Regions from separate parts of the Homo sapiens genome. Here region 2 is linked to region 1. Evidence: promoter capture Hi-C in human tissues and cell types (Jung and others, 2019). All regions are on one chromosome and are shown on one strand. Each heading gives the region's core, a stretch centred on a gene start or on the middle of the fragment in contact. The rest is flanking DNA. Distances are from core to core; before and after follow the strand shown. Region 1 holds the start of BBS1 (Bardet-Biedl syndrome 1). Region 2 holds the start of RBM14 (RNA binding motif protein 14).

Evidence for each region. Contacts are between HindIII fragments. The study calls those that stand out against the background at their distance.
Region 2: a contact is called between the fragment with the promoter of RBM14 here and the fragment with the promoter of BBS1 in region 1, in 2 of the 25 tissues and cell types used here (H1 embryonic stem cells and mesendoderm cells).

Annotation. Positions count from the first base shown.
Region 1 is chr11:66,508,097-66,512,790 of GRCh38, forward strand. It overlaps BBS1 (Bardet-Biedl syndrome 1), which reads left to right and starts at 2,539. Exons shown (of 17, transcript NM_024649.5): 1 at 2,539-2,610; 2 at 2,917-2,993; 3 at 3,109-3,143. The coding sequence starts at 2,564. DPP3 (dipeptidyl peptidase 3) reads left to right here. Exons shown (of 18, transcript NM_130443.4): 18 at 983-1,561. The coding sequence ends at 1,155. RefSeq lists an enhancer at 2,401-2,450. The HindIII fragment of the contact is 12,258 bases long and covers 1,808-4,694 here.
Region 2 is chr11:66,613,633-66,618,507 of GRCh38, forward strand. It overlaps RBM14 (RNA binding motif protein 14), which reads left to right and starts at 2,998. Exons shown (of 3, transcript NM_006328.4): 1 at 2,998-3,425. The coding sequence starts at 3,089. RBM14-RBM4 (RBM14-RBM4 readthrough) reads left to right here and starts at 2,998. Exons shown (of 2, transcript NM_001198846.2): 1 at 2,998-3,425. The coding sequence starts at 3,089. It also overlaps the pseudogene RNU4-39P. RefSeq lists enhancers at 2,474-2,583, 2,948-3,881, 3,014-3,243. The HindIII fragment of the contact is 10,275 bases long and covers 1-4,875 here.

The sequences.
Region 1 (4,694 bases), core at 1,289-3,788:
AAAGCTGTTGGGTGGCAGAGCCAGAACTTGAACTCCAGAGCTTGTGCTCTTTGCTGCTGTGCAGCTTGTGATGTCATGGAACACGACAAGGTGCACAGAGAGGGTAGAGCAGTTGAAGTGTGTTTGAGGGCAGTGCTTCCCGGGGGTATTCAGGGGACCCTCAGAACAGCCCATTTAATAAATCAGTAAACAGGTTCGGAGATAATGATGCCATGGTGGCTAGCATTTGTTGAGCACCCCCTCGATGTGTGACTATGTCATCACTGCAGCTCCTTTACAGATGAGGAGACTGAAGCTTGGGAGGTTGCAACACTTGCCCCAGGTCCCACAGTAGACAGATGAAGTCGTTGCTGAATTGTGAGCTTCAGGACACCAAGGACTGTATCTGTTTCACCTAGTGTGGCACCTGGTGTCTTTTATTATTTATTTATTTATTTATTTATTTTGAGGTGGAATCTCACTGTCACCCAGGCTGGAGTGCAGTGGCACGATCTCTGCTCACCGCAACCTCTGCCACCCGGGTTCAAGCAATTCTCCAGCCTCAGCCTCCCGAGTAGCTGGGACTACAGGCTCATGCCACCACGCCCAGCTAATTTTTTTGTATGTTTAGTATAAACAGTGTTTCATCATGTTGGCCAAGCTGGTCTCAAACTCCTGACCTCAGGTGATCCTCCCACCTCAGCCTACCAAGGTGCTAGGATTACAGGCATGAGCCACCATGCCCAGCCTAAATCTTTATTTGATTGACTGAATGAACGAAAGCAGCAATGCATTTAATACTCCCCCTGTAGTATTTCCTTCCTCACAGGGTTACTGTAAAGAGTAAATTAAGTAATTAACCTAAAACGTAGAGCACAGGTTTTTTTGGCAGAGCTCAGTAAGAAACAGCTGCTGCTGTAATTGTGATTATTAAGATTTTTATGATGATTCAGTTTCCCTATTCAGACCTTTCCCTGCTGTTTTCTCTCCATCTCCTCCCCAGGCTCAGACGTGCAGCTTCTGGAATACGAGGCGTCAGCTGCTGGCCTCATCCGATCCTTCTCTGAGCGTTTCCCAGAGGATGGACCCGAGTTGGAGGAGATCCTCACACAGCTGGCCACAGCCGATGCCCGATTCTGGAAGGGCCCCAGTGAGGCCCCATCTGGCCAAGCTTGAGGAAGATGTGTGGCCTTGCCCCCAATTCCATCAGACCAAGGCTGCAAGTGGCCCTCCATTCGTGTGTGTATTTAGGGGCTGGGGAGGGGGAGGGGCAGGAGCTTGGACCTTGGTACTACCTCAGCTGAGGGTGGTGACACAACCCCTTCCATTTGTCAGCACTTTCCAGCCTGCCAATTGCTTCCCCTCTGTGATCTCATTTCATCTGCACTGCCATACGTGGAGTGAGCAAGACAGGGCTTACCATCCTGTCTACCAGATGAGGAAATGGCAGTTCTGAGAAGTCACTGGTCTAGATCCCGCAGGTGGCACGTGACAGCTAGGGTTCAAAACGTTCTCACCAAATCCAATGCTCCTCACATATTAATTTTATAACCAGACAAATAAATATTAGAGACAACCACCATCTTTGCGGCGTGTGTGGCTCCTCCTTGCCTTTGCCTGTCTTCTCATTTACTCCCAGCAGAGTGATGGGCTCAAGGCCTGGGGAGGGGGCAAGGAGGGCCATTTTTAGCCTCCCTTCCACAACAGGATGTTGACATTATCTCTAGATGAGGATACGCAGTCACAGAGCTGAACATAGCACAATTTTTGCAGCTCTCCTTTGTGGCATTCCTTGCATTTTTAAATGTTCTGGGGCCGGGCACGGTGGCTCATGCCTGTAATCCCAGCACTTTGGGAGGCCGAGGCGAGGGGATCACGAGGTCAGGAGTTCGAGACCGGCTTGGCCAATATGGTGAAACCTCGTCTCTACTAAAAAATAAAGTAGCTGGGCATGGTGGCATGCGCCTGTAATCCCAGCTACTCGGGAGGCTGAGGCAGGAGAATCCCTGGAACCCGGGAGGCGGAGGTTGCGGTGAGCCGAAATCGCGCTACTGCGCTCCAGCGCAAGCGACAGAGCGAGACTACGTCTCAAAAAAAAAAAAAAAAAAAAAAAGTTCTGGGAACCTACAAACTCAACTTCAGTCAGAATCCTCTGCATTTGTCCCATAACCCTCGTGTTTTGTTTCTCTGGGCCTGGACCTCTACAGTAACGCAGCAAGGCAGGACATGGTCCTTTTCAACCGGGTAACCATGAAGATGGAGACAGGAGGAGTTCTTTTTGCTGCTCATAAATGCTAGAAGGGGCTTCTTTCCAACCCTGGAAGCCAGAGGGCTCTGTGGCTGACCCAGAGATTGTAGGACCCAGACGCCTGGAAAGGTGGCTCTGACTGGGAAGGAGCAAAGATAAATATCTTTGAGGAATCTGAGACAGATTCCTCAACCCAGGAAGGTGGCCAGCGCGTCCTCCTGAGCCTGGGTGGGAAAGCTTGGCGCCCGGAACCTTTGTACTCGCCCTTCCCTGTGCTCGGGCACTATTGGGCGTTACGCGAGGGCGGGGCCGGTTGCCAGGACGACGCCTGCGAAGATGGCCGCTGCGTCCTCATCGGATTCCGACGCCTGCGGAGCTGAGAGGTGAAGGCAGGGCTCCTCAAGGCCTCTTTTCCCACCCGTGTAAAGAGGGTCCCTTGGTCCCCGGGCTCTGGGCTCCTGCTGTTCTCGGGCAGTCTGGAAGGACTCTTAAGAGGTCAGATAGGGAAACCGAGGCCTAAGATGTGCATATGTGTGTCTGGAGGTCGCTCGGTGAGCCAGTGGCGGAGCCTGGACTTGTACCCAGACGTTCTGTACCTTATGTTCAGAGTGACCTGTACCAGCTTCCTCAAAGTTTTTTTTTCCCCTCCCATGGGACTCACTCCCCAACTGTCTTTCCCCCACTTCCAGCAATGAGGCCAATTCGAAGTGGTTGGATGCGCACTACGACCCAATGGCCAATATCCACACCTTTTCTGCCTGCCTAGGTGAGTCTCTGGAACCAGGAACCCTGGGTTCTAGTGGGATGGGGAGTCAGACAATGGTCCTGTAGTGAAGCCTCTGGGATTCTGAGACTCTGGTTTTGGCCCTTTTGTTTTCCAGCGCTGGCAGATTTACATGGGGATGGGGAATACAAGGTAAGCATATCACCCTAGCCAGGAGAGTTGAGGGTAGGGGGGTGTACCCAGAAATGAGATTTCCTGACGGCTGAAAATAGGCCCAGCATACTCTGGAATTCACATATACTGTGAAAAAGCACATTTAGCGTTAAATTTTGTTTTTATATGGAAAGTGAAGAGAACTTATTGATTTCATAATACAGACTGCAGAAAGTAAAGCAGATCAAATATTTCTGGGGATTCTACTAAGACAAAGCCTCTTAGTTAACCTGATTTCTTTGTTGGAAGGGCAAATCCCTTGGTTGGGGGTGGGCACTAGAATCTGGAGGGAAAGTAAAAAGGAGGGAAGTGAACGTTTGATGTTTATCAAAAGATTTTAAGATGGGCCATGAGCTGTCAATTTTTGAAGCTGGATAATGGGATATATGGGGACTCATTATATGAGTCTCTCTACTTTTGTATGTGAATGAAAATTTTCCATAGTAAAAATGTTACATTTTAAATTTAATTTTAAGGCCAGCAATCCCAGCACTTTGGGAGGCTGAGGTGGGTGGATCGCTTGAGCTTAGGCATTCGAGACCAGCCTGTCCAACATGGTGAAACACCATCTCTACTAAAAATACAAAAATTAGCCGGGCATGGTGATGGGCACCTGTAATCCCAGCTACTTGGGAGGCTGAGGCAGGAGAATTGGTCAAACCCAGGAGGCGGAGGTTGAGTGAGCTGAGACCATGCCACTACACTCCAGCCTGGATGACAGAGTGAGACAGTTTCAAAAAAAAATATATATATATATATGTGTATATATATGTATATATATGTATATATATGTGTATATATATGTATATATATATACATATATTTAATTTTAAATAAAAATGTAAATTTAAAAAGATACAAGTTTTTTAAAGGTAGAGAAATATATTGGGATAAAAGAAAGGAAGTTAGCATGGATTCAGTATCCATTTCTGGACTAGACATTCCATGGAGGCACATAAACATGGATTTTATTTATTCCCATTTTGTGAATGGGAAAATAGTTTCAAAGAGGTGAAGTTTACTGAATTTGTAACTGGGTCTGTTTGATTCCAAGTTTTGTGCTTTTTCTACCAAAGCTCAGCCCTCACCATGGGCAACAACACCACAATGGATATATCATGTGGGTGGCTAGAAGATAGTCCTGGAATCCCACCCCACACAGAGAGTGCAATAGGACTCAGTGGTTTTTGCCCCCAAATTCCTATCCATAATGTATTCAGTAATTCAGCAAGTGTATAGTGAGTCCCTACTGTGTGTCAGGCATCATGGGGACACTACACTCAGAAATGCATCAGCATGTGGTCAGGAGGAGATACACTGTCGACAATTATTCCATGATATTGATTGAATACCTAGTTTGTATTTGGCTCTGGGCTTACAATAGTGAGGGAAGAGAAACCACAGACACAGTAGCTAATAAGAAATGTTAGCCAGGCACAGTGGCTCATGCCTGTAATCCCAGCACTTTAGGAGGAGGCCAAGGCGGGTGGATCACGAGGTCAGGAGTTTGAGACCAGCCTGGACAACATG
Region 2 (4,875 bases), core at 1,748-4,247, 110 kb after region 1:
AGCTGGGATTACAGACGCACGCCACTACGCCCAGATAATTTTTTGTATGTTTAGTAGAGACGGGGTTTCACCGTGTTGGCCAGGCTGGTCCCGAACTCCTGACCTCATAATTTGCCTTCCTCGGCCTCCCAAAGTGCTGGGATTACAGGCATGAGCCACCCCGCCCGGCCGCCGGCTAATTTAAAAAAAAAAAATTTTAGAGATGGATTTTGGTCGTTGCCCAGGCTGTCCCCAACCTTCTGGGCTGAGGCGATCTACCTGCCTCAGCCTCCCAAAGCACTGGGATTACAGGCATGAGCCACCACACCCAGCCTACAATTAGTTTCACCTGTTTCTTTTCACCTTTTAAAATGCAGCTACTAGAAAAATTAAAAGCACCTATGGGTCTCACTGTGTTAACGTAAGACCCCACCTGCCGGGTGGGGTGACTCACACCTGTAATCCCAGCACTTTGGGAGGCCGAGGCAGGCGAATCACAAGGTCGGGAGTTCGGGACCAGCCTGGCCAACATGCTGAAACCCCTACTAAAAATGCAAAAATTACGCCGGGCGTGGTGGCGTGCGTGCCTGTAATCGCAGCTACTCGGGAGGCTGAGGCAGGGAAAACTGCTTGAACCCAGGAGGCGGAGGCTGCAGTGAGCCGAGATAGCACCACTGCACTACAGCCAGGGTGACAAGAGTGAAACTCTGTCTCAATAAATAAATAAATAAAATGGCTATCCTTACTGGGTAGCTAGGGGTTTGCTGATATCCTGTTCTGGGAATACTGCCAGCAGTTTGGATTTCAGGAGATACCAGAGTAGTGCCCCTTTTCTTTCTTTCTTTCTTTCTTTTTTTTTTTTTTTTTGAGACGGAGTCTCGCTCTGTCGCCCAGCCTGGAGTGCAGTGGCGCGATCTCGGCTCACTGCAAGCTCCAACTCCCGGGTTCACGCCATTCTCCTGCCTCAGCCTCCCTAGTAGCTGGGACTACAGGCCCCCGCCACCATGCCCGGCTAATTTTTTGTATTTTAGTAGAGACGGGGTTTCACCGTGTTAGCCAGGATGGTCTCCATCTCCTGACCTCATGATCCGCCCGCCTCAGCCTCCCAAAGTGCTGGGATTACAGGCGTGAGCCACCTCGCCTGGCCCAAGCACATGCCATTTCAATGGCCTTGTGCTACACAACTCCCACCCTCCTATTCTGCTCTCTGTTCCAGGTTCTGGCCATATTGGGCTCTTTTTTTTTTTTTTTTTTGGAGACAGAGTCCTGCTCTGTTGGCCAGGATGGAGTGTGGTGGCGTGATCTCAGCCCACTGCAACCTCCACCTCCTGGGTTCAAGTGATTTTAATGCCTCAGCCTCCTGAGTAGCTGGGATTACAGGTGCCAGTCATCATGCATGGCTAATGTTTTGTTTTCAATTAGCAATAATTGCGCCTCGGATAAACCTCATTGGCTATGATACTGCCACTGCGCAAAGCTAATGTTTTGTAGTTTTAGTAGAGACAGGGTTTTACCATGTTGGTCAGACTGGTCTCGAACTCTTGACCTCAGGTGATCCGCCCGCCTCAGCCTCCCAAAGTGCTGGGATTACAGGCGTGAGCCACCGGGCCTGGCCCATACTGGCTCTTGACTCTTCCTTGAACCAGATTTGCTTCTGCCCCAGCACTCTTTGACTTGTACTTTCTGGCCGGCATGATCTTCCCTCAGAGGATGGCTTAGTTCCCTTGATTACTCCAAGTCCTCATCACCATCTAACACGCTTATGTTTTACTTATTTCTTGCCTGTTTCTCCCCACCATAAGATCCAAGAAGGTTGGGATTTCTGTCATTTTTTTTTGTTCACTGCTATATTCTTGGTGGTGTCCACATGGTAGGTGCTATTTGTTGACTGAACACGTAGGCAAATATTTCCCTGAGTTTGTCACATGTCTATGTTTTTGATGTTGTCTGCCATGCAACAATCTTATTTACATACTCAAATCTGTTTAAAAAAATTTTTGAGACGGAATCTCACTGTCGCCCATGCTGGAGTGCAGTGGCGTGATCTTGGCTCACTGCAACCTCCGCCTTCCGGGTTCAAGTGATTCTCCTGCCTCAGCCTCCCAAGTAGCTGGGATTACAGGCGCGCACCACCACACCCGGCTAATTTTGTATTTTTAGTAGAGACGGGGTTTCACCATTTTGGCCAGGCTGGTCCTGAACTCCTGACCTCCGGTGATCTGCTTGCCTTGGTCTCCCAAAGTGCTGGAATTACAGGCGTGAGCCACCGCTCCCGGACTAAAATTTTTTTTAAGGCTCAACTTTTGCTTCCTGCAGAATTAATTTTCTCGTTTATTAAACTGTTTATTATGAAAACCTTCAACATACAATAACGTCATTCCATTATTTCTTGACTGGGAATTCCATCAGGGCAGAGGCCTTTGATTTTTCACCGGCTGCCAGGACCTCAGCAACCCCAGGGAATGTTTCCAAAGAATCAATTAATGGCACGAGGGCTTCTCCGGGGCCTGCCTCAGGTCCCCTCGCGGTGCTCAGCACAGTCCTGGGAGCCGTTTGCCGACTCAAGGCGCCTGTCCTGGTTTCTCCCGCCAGGCCCGGCCTTCCCCCGTACACTCACGCGGCAACCCCCAGGCGCGGGTTTGGACAGGGCTTCCAGAATGGGAGGAGCCCTGACTTCCAATTGTACAAAGTTTTCCTGGGAGCCCGCCGGTCCCAGCCCCACCCGGGCCAGAGACCGCCTTACAGACTAGGCCTCTCTGCCGCCGGCGCCGCTCGCGCGCGTTCTCCTCTCTTCAGCCCTCCCTCTTCTTCCCAACCCCCTCTCCCGCCACGGGCTGTGGCGGTTGGTCGTCCCTTTCCCACCCCCTCAGCTAACGAGCGGGCTCTAGGCCCTCTGGGATTGGCTGTGCCTGAGCACATCTTCCCTCAGCGTTTCTGATTGGTCGCTGGACGCGCGGGATGCGAGTCCCCATTGGCTAGGCCAGGGCGCCTGCGCGGCGGGGTTCTCGGTCGCCAGCCATTCCTGAGGAGGACTGCCGGTCGTTCGGACGTCTTGCCTGTCGCTGGAGGAGAGGTCCGGGCTCTCCAGGAAGGTGGCTGCGGCGACAAAATGAAGATATTCGTGGGCAACGTCGACGGGGCGGATACGACTCCGGAGGAGCTGGCAGCCCTCTTTGCGCCCTACGGCACGGTCATGAGCTGCGCCGTCATGAAACAGTTCGCCTTCGTGCACATGCGCGAGAACGCGGGCGCGCTGCGCGCCATCGAAGCCCTGCACGGCCACGAGCTGCGGCCGGGGCGCGCGCTCGTGGTGGAGATGTCGCGCCCAAGGCCTCTTAATACTTGGAAGATTTTCGTGGGCAATGTGTCGGCTGCATGCACGAGCCAGGAACTGCGCAGCCTCTTCGAGCGCCGCGGACGCGTCATCGAGTGTGACGTGGTGAAAGGTAACGCGGAGGCGCGCTCGGGGGCGGGGGCGCGCTCGGGGCACTCTGCCTGTTAGCCACGCCCCTTACCCGGGGGTCGGTCACTGCGCGGTTGGGAGGGGTGGGGAAGTGCGCGGGAGCAGGTCGGAGGTGTTGGGGGCGCGTTGGGTAGAGCCACCCTCCTCCCCTGCGGTCCAGGAACCGTCCACCAAGTAGGAGGAAGCGGCTCTGGGTGGGTGCGGCGGCCACTGCGAGCCAAGCTACGGGGCCGGGGACGCGCCTGAGAGCCTTGCGAGTGTTCCGGGGGCGCGCCTTCTCCTGGTCTCCTGGGCCTGGCACCCAGCGGAAATTGGGAAGTGACGGGCACAAGCCGGATCATGAAGCGGGGAAGATTTCTCCACTTCCCCACTTCCTCTCCAGACGTCGGTCAGAGCAAGGGAAGAGGGAAAAGGTGGGGGCTGACGCCCCAAGGCCGCCCTCCTGTTCCCTCCCGATGAATGTGCTCAAGCGGAAGGTAACGGGGCCCTTGGACGTTTCTCGGGCTGGGGTCTTTTAGTCTTGTCTGGCATGGGTCTACTCATGGGCACAGTTACACGTGGGTACGAGAGGGGCCCCTTCCGAATCACTTTGGCCTTTCAATATTAGGTAGGTTAGGCGTGGCAGCTCTGTGCTTTTCTCCTCCCTCAAACTTGGGGTTTTTCTTTGGGCTCGATTTTACATCTGTCAACTGGAAACCCCAGCCTTTTGCATGTGCAAGAAAGCTTGTTTTATGAAGTCCCCTTCTGCGTAGTCTTTACATGCCAAGCCAGTGCCCTAGGGCAGTGTCATTCTTTTATAAGCTTGGTGACTTTGCAGGGGGGCATACTCTGGCTGAGGGGGTCCTGGGGAGGGGTCTGTGAGAGCTCTTCATTAAACAGTGGCTAAACACGGTTTACTGAATCAGTAGTAGTCATTGCTTGAGTAGTCTGATTCTCAGGGCAGATCCCGGTGCCTTTTCTTCGAGAAAAATGTGTCACCATAATTTAAGCCTGACTAGGGACCCAGTTGACTTTTTCATAGCTTGAGTTTTTATCCCTTAAGCTCTTTATCTTTTACATTGGCAAGATTTGGTGGGACAGCCGTTGTGTATGTGGCCAGTCTCTGCTCCACTTGGGAACAGATCAGAGTTAACTTTGCCCTGTCATTTTGGAAGATGCAGCCTGGGAGTATCTGATGCCCTACTCCTGGTGGGTTCATACCTGCTCATACCCTGTGTGAGAAGTTTCAGGGATAGGAAATAAATGTGGGTGCAAGTGCTTATTTATCCCACCAAGATATTTCATTTGCTGTCCTGGAAAGGCACATGTTTGGGGCCATTCCTAGTCCTTTAAGTGGGGGAAATATAAAGGGTCATAGTGTCCACTACTAGGAACAAGTCCTTGTTCTGCATTAATACTGCATTCTATTTTCCTCAACTCAGGTTATACAAGTC